Regions from separate parts of the Homo sapiens genome. Here regions 1 and 2 are each linked to region 3. The links are contacts of gene promoters, found by promoter capture Hi-C in blood cells and fetal thymus (Javierre and others, 2016). All regions are on one chromosome and are shown on one strand. The core of a region is centred on a gene start or on the middle of the fragment in contact, and the rest is flanking DNA. Distances in the headings are between cores, read along the strand shown. Region 1 has its middle 4.3 kb from the start of SLC25A4. Region 2 has its middle 10 kb from the start of LINC02436. Region 3 holds the start of LRP2BP (LRP2 binding protein).

What was found. Contacts are between HindIII fragments. The CHiCAGO score rates a contact against its expected background, and 5 or more counts as called.
Region 1: a contact is called between a fragment that was not itself captured here and the fragment with the promoter of LRP2BP in region 3, in 1 of 17 cell types (naive CD8 T cells). The highest score is 5.0, in naive CD8 T cells.
Region 2: a fragment that was not itself captured here is called in contact with the fragment with the promoter of LRP2BP in region 3 in 1 of 17 cell types (megakaryocytes); the score reaches 5.0 in megakaryocytes.

Annotation. Positions count from the first base shown.
Region 1 is chr4:185,137,477-185,140,451 of GRCh38, reverse strand. No RefSeq gene overlaps it. Among named protein-coding and RNA genes, the nearest start is that of SLC25A4, 4.3 kb to the left of the region's middle. The HindIII fragment of the contact is 1,006 bases long and covers 1,217-2,222 here.
Region 2 is chr4:185,039,979-185,042,855 of GRCh38, reverse strand. No RefSeq gene overlaps it. Among named protein-coding and RNA genes, the nearest start is that of LINC02436, 10 kb to the left of the region's middle. The HindIII fragment of the contact is 163 bases long and covers 1,253-1,415 here.
Region 3 is chr4:185,394,436-185,397,565 of GRCh38, reverse strand. LRP2BP (LRP2 binding protein) reads left to right here and starts at 1,642. Exons shown (of 9, transcript NM_001377440.1): 1 at 1,642-2,787. ANKRD37 (ankyrin repeat domain 37) reads right to left here and starts at 725. Exons shown (of 5, transcript NM_181726.4): 1 at 616-725; 2 at 264-416. The coding sequence starts at 642. RefSeq lists silencers at 740-1,109, 1,330-1,519 and an enhancer at 1,140-1,209. The HindIII fragment of the contact is 1,591 bases long and covers 570-2,160 here.

The DNA of each region.
Region 1 (2,975 bases), core at 470-2,969, 260 kb after region 3:
CTAAGTCTAGTTTGTCATATATTAAGTTCTCATAATAGCTTTAATTTATGAAATATCCACACTATGACATATTTATTTGATCTTCATTTTTTAAAAATAGGCTGATATATGATTCTACAATCACTTAAAAAATAAAGTTTTATCTGCTTATGTGTCTGGATTTATTTTTACTATCAAGTTGTTCAATTGTTTAAACATCACCAGAAGATTTTAAATAGACATTTAAACTAAATTAAATATTAATTAATATATGAATTCAGGAAGTAGTATCATCTTTGTTACACTTAATTTTACCAATCAGAGTTTTGGATATTTTCTAAATGGGAGATATATTTCTCCTTGGCTACTCTCCAGTTATCCTGTTCTATAGAAGGAGTCATAGCTGGAATCCTTGACAAGAGGTTTTCCATGGAAACTCATACACTGTCCTCTGCTTCCACGGACTTTCTCAGAAAAGAGAGGCCTTACATGCCCTCGGGAGCATGAGCTGCCTGTGGTCACAAGATCCTGGTATCACTTACACAGGCAGGGGAGAGAATGGCGCTCGGCAGAACATGTGTCCACCCGCCCAACCCAGTACTTAGTGGCTTTCTTCCAGCAGGAGAATGGACAAGGCATCTAGGAGATGAGAAGAAACTCTACTTTCAATCGTGGATGGGATCTTAGATGCTGGTGGGAACAGGGCCATGTAGAAATGAGAGCAGGGTGGAAAGTTAGCCTTTTGGAATTTTAGTGGAAGCTCTTATAGACTTAGTCTCTTACCAAACTGGGAATAGAGAATGGAAGTTGCTAAAGAGTAAGAGTGACAAGGAATAAAGAAAAACAATAAAGGATGTGCTAATGGTGGTGATAACATAATGCCTGTGTGCAAGTGTACATTTAAAGTATTAGGAATTAGAACACACTACTAGTGTTTGTTCACATGGTAAGTTTCAGCATTAAGCGAAGAGGATCAAGATATTTATATGTGCATTTATTTATTTATTTATTTTAGAGACAGCATCTTGCTTTGTCACCCTGGCTGGAGCACGGTGGCACAATCACAGATCACTGAAACCATGCACTCCTAGGCACAAGGGATCCTCCTGCTTCAGCCTCCTGAGTAGCTGAGGCTACAGGCACATACCATCATGCCCGGATATATATATTTTTTAATTTGCAGGTTTTGCTGTGGTCTCCTGGTTTTGCTATGTTGCCCAGGCTATGTGGAGAAGCTTACATGCCAGGAACAGACATAGCTGTGGTGCCTACAGGCAATTCCAACGCAGCCTGGCAAGGACAAGGACCCAAGAGGGGGTTCTGGTTGTACTTCCAGCAGAGTGACTTTCAGTGTGTTGCCTCCACCGGAACTTGTACTTTTTACGTTTTATGAATGTTCGTGAAACAAAAAGTTTTGTTAGAAGGATTTGGCGCCTTATTATTTAAAGGAGGTGATTTGAGGGGGCAGAGGAGCCCTTGAATCATAGAAAAGACAGAGGGACTTCTCCTAGAAGGCACTCTGCTTCCGGGGGAAACTGATTCAGGTTGGCCTCTTGGTTGCTGGAGGCAGGGAGGCCTGGGGGACCCCCGTAGCACACCCCTGATAGACACAGGCGGACCCCGTGCACTTCCCAGACAGATTCAGAACCTTTCTTTTCCCACTTCCAATCTTAGCACCTCTCTTTACTTTGTTGAAGAGTCCAACAAGCACATTGAGTATCATACAACACAACGAAGCTAATGTTTATGCTTGCATAATAATGCCTTCCGACCATAACCACACACCTTCCAGGCTGGCATCTTCCAGTTTTGCCCACGGGCAACCTCTGTGAATAAAACCGTTACTCACCTGGAGCTGACTGGGTCCATTTTCTAAACACATTTTGAACTAGTGTTTTGTGTTTCACATATCCTATCAATCATTTTTAAAAACATGCTTTATTTCTATTATTAAAATCAGTAGGCAACAAATGTTATCAGAGACTATTTTTTATCATCTGTACTACTGAAGAACAATATTTTGCTATTTTAATGAATAAGGGTTTTCTTCCATATGCGTTCTTTTACCTCATGACCCTTTCCTCATAGTCAGCTAGACGTTCTGTGTCACTGCCACAGGAAAAAGAAAACATTCAGGAAGCAGAGGAAGTAAGAGTCTATTCTCGGCATTAGAATTTCCAAAGGAAGAGAAAAAACTCAAGCCCAGTGGACTTCGTAGAATACTTGAGGGAAAACAAAAAGCTTTCTGCACACAGCCGGGCACGGTGGCTCACGCCTGTAATCCCAGCATTTTGGGAGGCCGAGGCGGGCGGATCACCTGAGGTCAGGAGTTCGAGACCAGCCTGACCAACATGGAGCAACCCCGTCTCTACTAAAAATACAAAATTAGCCGGGCGTGGTGGCGCATGCCTGTAATCCCAGCTACTCGGGAGGCTGAGGCAGGAGAATCACTTGAACCCGGGAGGCGGAGGCTGTGGTGAGCGGAGATCACGCCACTGCACTCCAGCCTGGGCAACAAGAGCGAAAACTCCATCTCCATAAAAACAAAAAACTTCCTGCTCAGCTACTCTTACAAAGATTATATGAAGTTTTCCCAAACCTGGAGAGAAAGGAAGAAAGTTAGAGAGAAAGCAAAGAATGTGAGGCTCGTGTGGATCCCTGGGAAGGAGGGGCCTGTATTCTGCGCAGCCCAGGGAGGCACAGATGCAGGGGAAGAAACGGCCGGGCGGTGTTTCAGCACACAGGGCAGAGGCAGCCTTGCAGGGTTGATCCAAGTGCAATGAGGGAGACGGAGAACAGATCCCTGGTACCTGAGGGATTTGCTTGTGTCCATAGTCCGCAAAATGAAGGCAGCCTGCTGGAGTGAAGGTCCCTAGAGAGCCCCGTTCAGCTTTTCCTGCTCTTAATGTCTCCAATGTGGCGCAGGAGCAGCAGAATAACGTTTCCTTTTCAAGGCCACCACAGTCCGCTGACAGCAAGCCAGGCCTGAAGAGCCT
Region 2 (2,877 bases), core at 85-2,584, 350 kb after region 3:
GGGAATTTGGCAAGCACATCCTTGGATCCGAATCCTGACCACTGGAGAATCATTCTGCATAGCCCTCTTACCTGTGTATGGCGAGAGCCAACAGTGCGGGAATGAATAGCTGGGATTACCATTGTGTCTGTTATTCTACTGGTGGTTGGTATGGTCAATAATAAGGACTTCTAGCACATGAGAAGAGCCTAACAGAGGCCATCTTTGTCAGATACTGTATATGTTACTGAGCTATATGCCAGGAGGAGATAGCCATCAACCCAGAAAGTGTGGGACTTACTAGACTTGTAAATTTTAGGGCTACTCTTCCTTCCTGTGAATTTACTACTTGTTTTATTAAGTCTTTGTTTATGTTGCTGTCAAGTGAGTTTCTATCACCAAGGGACATTTCAAATTCCATCAGCTCTCCCCTCACTACCATATTCTTTGAAGGGCTTAGCTATATACTGGTATGACCTATCTAGTTCTAAAATTAGGGAGCAATCTAGGCCCCTTAAGCATGTAGATCCTTTATGTTTCATGTAGTTTAATAGAACTACTGGGGGTGGATGCTTGTGTTGCCAGAGTACTTTTTCTTTCTTTCTTTCTTTCTTTTTTTGAGACAAGATCTCACTCTGTCGCCCAGGCTGGAGCACAGTGGTGCCATCATGGCTCACTGCAGCTCAACGTCCTGGGCGCAAGTGACCCTCCTGCCTCAGCCTTCCAAATAGCTGGGACTACAGGCACAAGCCACCACACCCAGCTAAGTTTTGTGTTTTTGTAGAGATGGGGTTTCTCCATGTTGCCCAGGCTGGTCTTGAACTCCTGGGCTCAAGTGATCTGCCCACCTCTGCCTCCCAAAGTGCTGGGATTACAGGCTTGAGCCACTGCACCTGGCCAGAGTTCTAATTGTTAGCTCTTGGGAGAAAACTAAGAATCATCTAACTGAAACCCCTCATTTTATTGAAGAGGAAATCAAGTCCCAGCAAACTGGCATGACTTAGCTTTACTTAACTCATTGTGACACTTAGTTGGATCAACATTACAGAAAAAGGAACACATAATATCTAATTTTTGCCCAGTATATTGATATGAAATACATCCTACAGCTATGTTGACTTCTTGGGTTGTTCTAAATTCTTCAAGATCACTGTAATTTGGAGTTTCTGGTAATTTTAATATTTTATGTAATTCACATAAAAATTGGAACCTAATACTCAGATTCCTCTTATTAAAACTGAATTAAATCAGTATTTAGAAAATAAGTAAAGCTTCCTTTATTCTTTTTTTCTTCAAAAGTTACTTAAGATAAATAAAAATTTGGTTTCCAAACACTATCAGGCAGTAGAAAAAAGAATTTGAAGATCTAGATGAAAGGAACTTCAGATGCCTCCTCCAGGAATATATGTACTTCCTTTTAAAGAGGTAAGAAAGCTTACATCGTTTAAAGAGTTTTTTTTAAGGTAATATGTTGTACTGTCCTTCTTTACTACAGTTTTTCTTTGAAAATATATGCTTTTCTAACGAATAAATTATAATATAGTTTGGGAGAACAAATAGATAATTTTTAAGGAAAATTAAATATCATAATTTATAATTATGCATAATTTATGCATGTATTCATTTGATGGAGTTTATTGAAAACACTTTATTATTTTTCAATTTGCTTTTCTATAAAGTCCTTGAAAAAGTGTTCAGACATAGAAAAGTCAATGGCATAAAACAGAGCTAGTAGCTTATTTCTACATAGTCACATATTTATCCTAGTTCCTTTCACGATTCCACGTCTCATTGTTCCATTACAAGTAGGACTCACAATATTTTAAAGGTCATCCTCATGTCATCCTGAAGTGACATGAGGAGAGAGCTGTATTCTTTGGGAAACACTGATCACAAACCAAGAAAAGGCCCTGAACTTCAGGGAATTTGTAAGACATTGCGGCCACTCACCAAAATCTGTTTTCCCAATGCCAAAAATGAGCCCCTCTAGGAGAGGTGACAGCTGTTTCAAGATGCGTTCTCAGACGCTCATCTGTGATTCAGACATACTTGTAGATAGAGGAGGAGCAAAGGTAAGACCTCACATCCCACCCTAGCCCTGGCAAGCCCATCAGCAGCCCGAGTCCCTGTGTGTGGTTATCCACGGCTTCACAGCTTAGCTTTCTGTTAGGCCTCAGAATGAGAGCTGTTGATGACTCATTAATGCTAACCATTGATTCCTGTGTCCCGGGTTAAGACTCAAAGGACAACATGGCAAGCAAGACCAGTGTCCCTTGTGATTTCTCCCCAGTAGGAAATACTCTTCTGTTCCTCTGTGGCCACTCTGTCCTCACAGGGAGTGACTTCTTACCCTGTCCCGAAAACTCACAATATAGACCCTGGACCCCTCATTCTTTCTCCTCAGTGACAAAGGTCTATAGTTCATGTATTTTAAAAACTACTCTGTGGTTTATAACCTAATTTTTAAAGTACTATTTAAGTTGTTCTCCAAAAGAATTTCACTGAATATTTAAAAACACGTTTGGAAAACTTAAGCACTATAGTTTTAAGCCAGCTGTCTAGGAATTTAGTTTGGACACATGAGAAAGATGGTCAAGAATCAAGAGCAGCGATGGGGTCTTGGGTACCCACGGCTACGCTGGACTGTTAAGGTAGTAAGGATAGTCTGAGAGGTGGCTTCAGAGGTCTGGATTAAGTGTTAGTTTGTCAGTCCTTTATTATAAAATGGATTGTGTCCATTTTCACCTCTCATTAGAAGGCGCGTGCATGTGTGTTTGTGTGTGTGTGCACGCGCTCACTCGCACTTCCTTTTCCCTTTGAATTTCTCCTTGGTGCTGTTAAGTGTATACTTAATGCAATGTTTTTGGAGGTGGTGGGGTGGCGAGTAATAGCTGCCTT
Region 3 (3,130 bases), core at 393-2,892:
TTTTGGACAAATTGGGTCAAATACTAAAATTTCATGTTTCGTTTATTAATGTGGCTACTTAAAAACTTCAAATTTCTCATGTCCTCACATCAAGACTGGAAAAAAACTCTTAAATTACATCTGTGTCTTGCATTATATTTCTGTTGGACATCGCTGCTATAGACATGTTTTTAACAGCTGAAACAACTCTTGGCGTCTGAGAAATGTTTGTGTGTGTCTGGGTTGGAGGGGACGGCTGTACACAGCAACAGTTACCTAGTTACCTGCTGGTTGAGGTCAGCGCCCGTTTGCAGCTGCCAGAGAAGAAAGCAAGCAAGGCCGCTTCCTGCGGCTAAGTGGACAGGCGACTGCTTGCAGGGATCCGGGGGTGCGTTGACCGAGGCCCCTGTCTCCAGCAAATGCTTCAGACCATCCACCTGCAGGAAGAGAACAGATCCAGCACCCTTCCCACCTTTGTCCAGTCCCGCGCCCCTCCGGGCTGGAAACCTCCCCGCCCTTCACAACCAGCTCTGACCAGGCAGCGCCCAGTGGTCCGTCCCCGCATTAACGAGAAGACGAATCTAGAAGCTTGAGCCTGCAGGACAAAAGCTCGGGCTCTGTGAGCCCGAATCTCACCTCGGGGTTGCAATCCAGCAACAGCATTTCCCGCCTAAGGCAGATGACAAGAGTCCTTGGAAGTGCAGAGAGGTGAGACACTCGCCGCACCCCGACAGGTAAGAATGCGCAGGCTGGCCCTAGCACGGGAGAATTTAAAGACCGCTGGGACTTCCGGGCCGGCCCTTGGCAGCCGCGCCCCAGCTCCGGTTACGCCCGAGCAGCCTAATCCTCAACGACCCGGACCCTGTCCAGCCCCGCCACGGCCGCACGTACACAAACACTGGCACGTGGAGCCCGGCGCCGGGGGCAGGGGGAGGGGGCGGGCGCGCGAGGCCATCCGCCGATTGGCCAGCTGTGGATGCGTCAGGCCCTCCCACCTCGGGGCGGGGCCCGCGGCGGCCCCACGGAGCCTCAGCGCGCGTGCGCAGGGTAAGTCAGTGGGCGTGAGAGGACTGGAGTAGGAGCGGGTGGGGCTCCGCGGCCGCCATGAGGCGCGCTGAGTTTGACACGTCTCCCGGTAGTGCGCCCGCCCTTTAATCCTTACGGAGAAGCGGGAGTTTCGGCTGCAGGTTTTGGCTCTGCCGGCGCGCACGTAACCAGGAAACTGGGAGCCACGCGCAGCTCCCCGTCGACGCCGCCTTCAGAAGCCGCTGTGCACTGCGCTGCTGCCGCCTCGGCGCCGGGGAACGCAAGTTCCTTTACCTCGCGCGCAGTCGCCCGCCTCCCAACCCGGGAGGTGAAGGCGGGGACGGCGAGCGCGAACTCGAGGGGATGGCTGTCCCGAGTGGCAACGGCCGAGCCCGGCCCGCGCAGGGACCCTTGTGGAGGGGCCCTCGGGGAGAGGCCGCAGCACGCTGGGGTCGTCACGCTGGTCCACGCCGGGCTCTCCTCCCGGGAGAGCGGACCCGGCCGCGTGCGATTCGGACCCGCGGGGCTGGTGAAGCCGCTGTCCGGCCCCGCGGGTGCTGTCGGGCGTGCGTCACTGCTTTTTGTAGAACATGACCTGACTTCCGATGGCAGCTACTGACGTCAGAGCTGCTCCCTAGACTCTCCCTAAGCGTCTTTCCAGAAGGATCTGCTTAGAAACCAAAGCTCCAGCCGAGTGTTTCTTTTCCCCTACATTTTTAGTGATTCCCTTCTGTTGATGCCTTTGAAAGCTCGGAGAAATAAATACGTTTATTGTTATGCTGTTAGAAAACAAGTTCATGCTTGTCCTCTAAAGATAAGTGGTCTTTTCATTCTACTTTTTGTTTTGTAGTAAGAGCCATAAAATTTGCAATCGCAAGTTTATGTTGTTATACTTAGTTACCCAAGGGGTAGTTTTAAGCATTTTTATTCATATGAATATTTGAATATAAATGTGTGTTCAAATATATAGAATCGTTCTTATATTCCACATTTTTAATATTTAAACTATTCACAATATCTTTTAATGATGTTTAAAGAACGGCAGTGTAGAGATACTGTTGTCAGATTTGTGAGGTGAGCACACGTTGATATTGCCAGTTTCGCTTTTGTTTATCAATTCAATAAGCACTGCTTTTTAAAACACGTGTTGAAGCTTCAGGTTTGCACAGAAGTTCATTTTCAGGAATTCCTAACTAATAAAGGGTATCAGACACGTTCTTACAGTTTTGAACATAAATACTGCAGTTAGCATATGTAGTGGGATATTTGTGTGGTGAAAGTGCCTCCATATTTCATATCTTTTCTTTGAAACAAGATTCTGTTCAGTATGCATTAAGTGGTAGTTATTTTTTAACTTCCTGTTACATACGTAAATTTCATAAGGAAAGGAAATTTGGGGAGTCGTTACAGCTTTTCTCCCTTTAATCACAGCGTACCTGTCCATTGCTCACATTGTTTTCAGAAAAAAAAGTTGTATCTCAGCTGGATATCTGACTTGACTTTAGTAATGGGCCTAGAAACTATAAACTGAACAAAGCTTATAATGCACAAAAACAGGATAAGTACATTTGGGGGACAATATCTTACTGGCAAGTAACTGGAGTTTCACCAGGCGTGTAGCAGGTGGGATCAATTTTCTAAAACGGAAGATGATCTAAGATGCATATTTTATAGGCGTTCTCCTAAGCAGTGCTAATTCTACATGTTTTAATTGCTGGTAGATGCGTTTCCAGAACGAGGATGCCATTTACAGCGAGTGTTAAAAAAAACGTTGGATGATGAGTAAGTGACCGAATAGATGAGAGATGTGTGGGCTGAATCTTGAGTAGTAAGAGTTTGCTAAGGAGTCCAGGAAGGGAAGAGTATTTCTAAGAAGTGTAAAATATCTTCCAGTATTGAGAGCACTATATGTAGTTCAGTCTGGGGGCAGTGTGTGATACACATGCAGCTGTGATGTGAAATAGAGAAAGGCCGACAAATGAGAAAGTATTAACCACTAACGTCTATTCCAGTTTATTATATTACAAATTGACATTAATTGAGCACTTGTGCCTCAAGACTAACGCTCATAGGTATTATCTGCATTTTACAGAAGAGGAAATTGAGGCTTAGGGAGATCCATTAA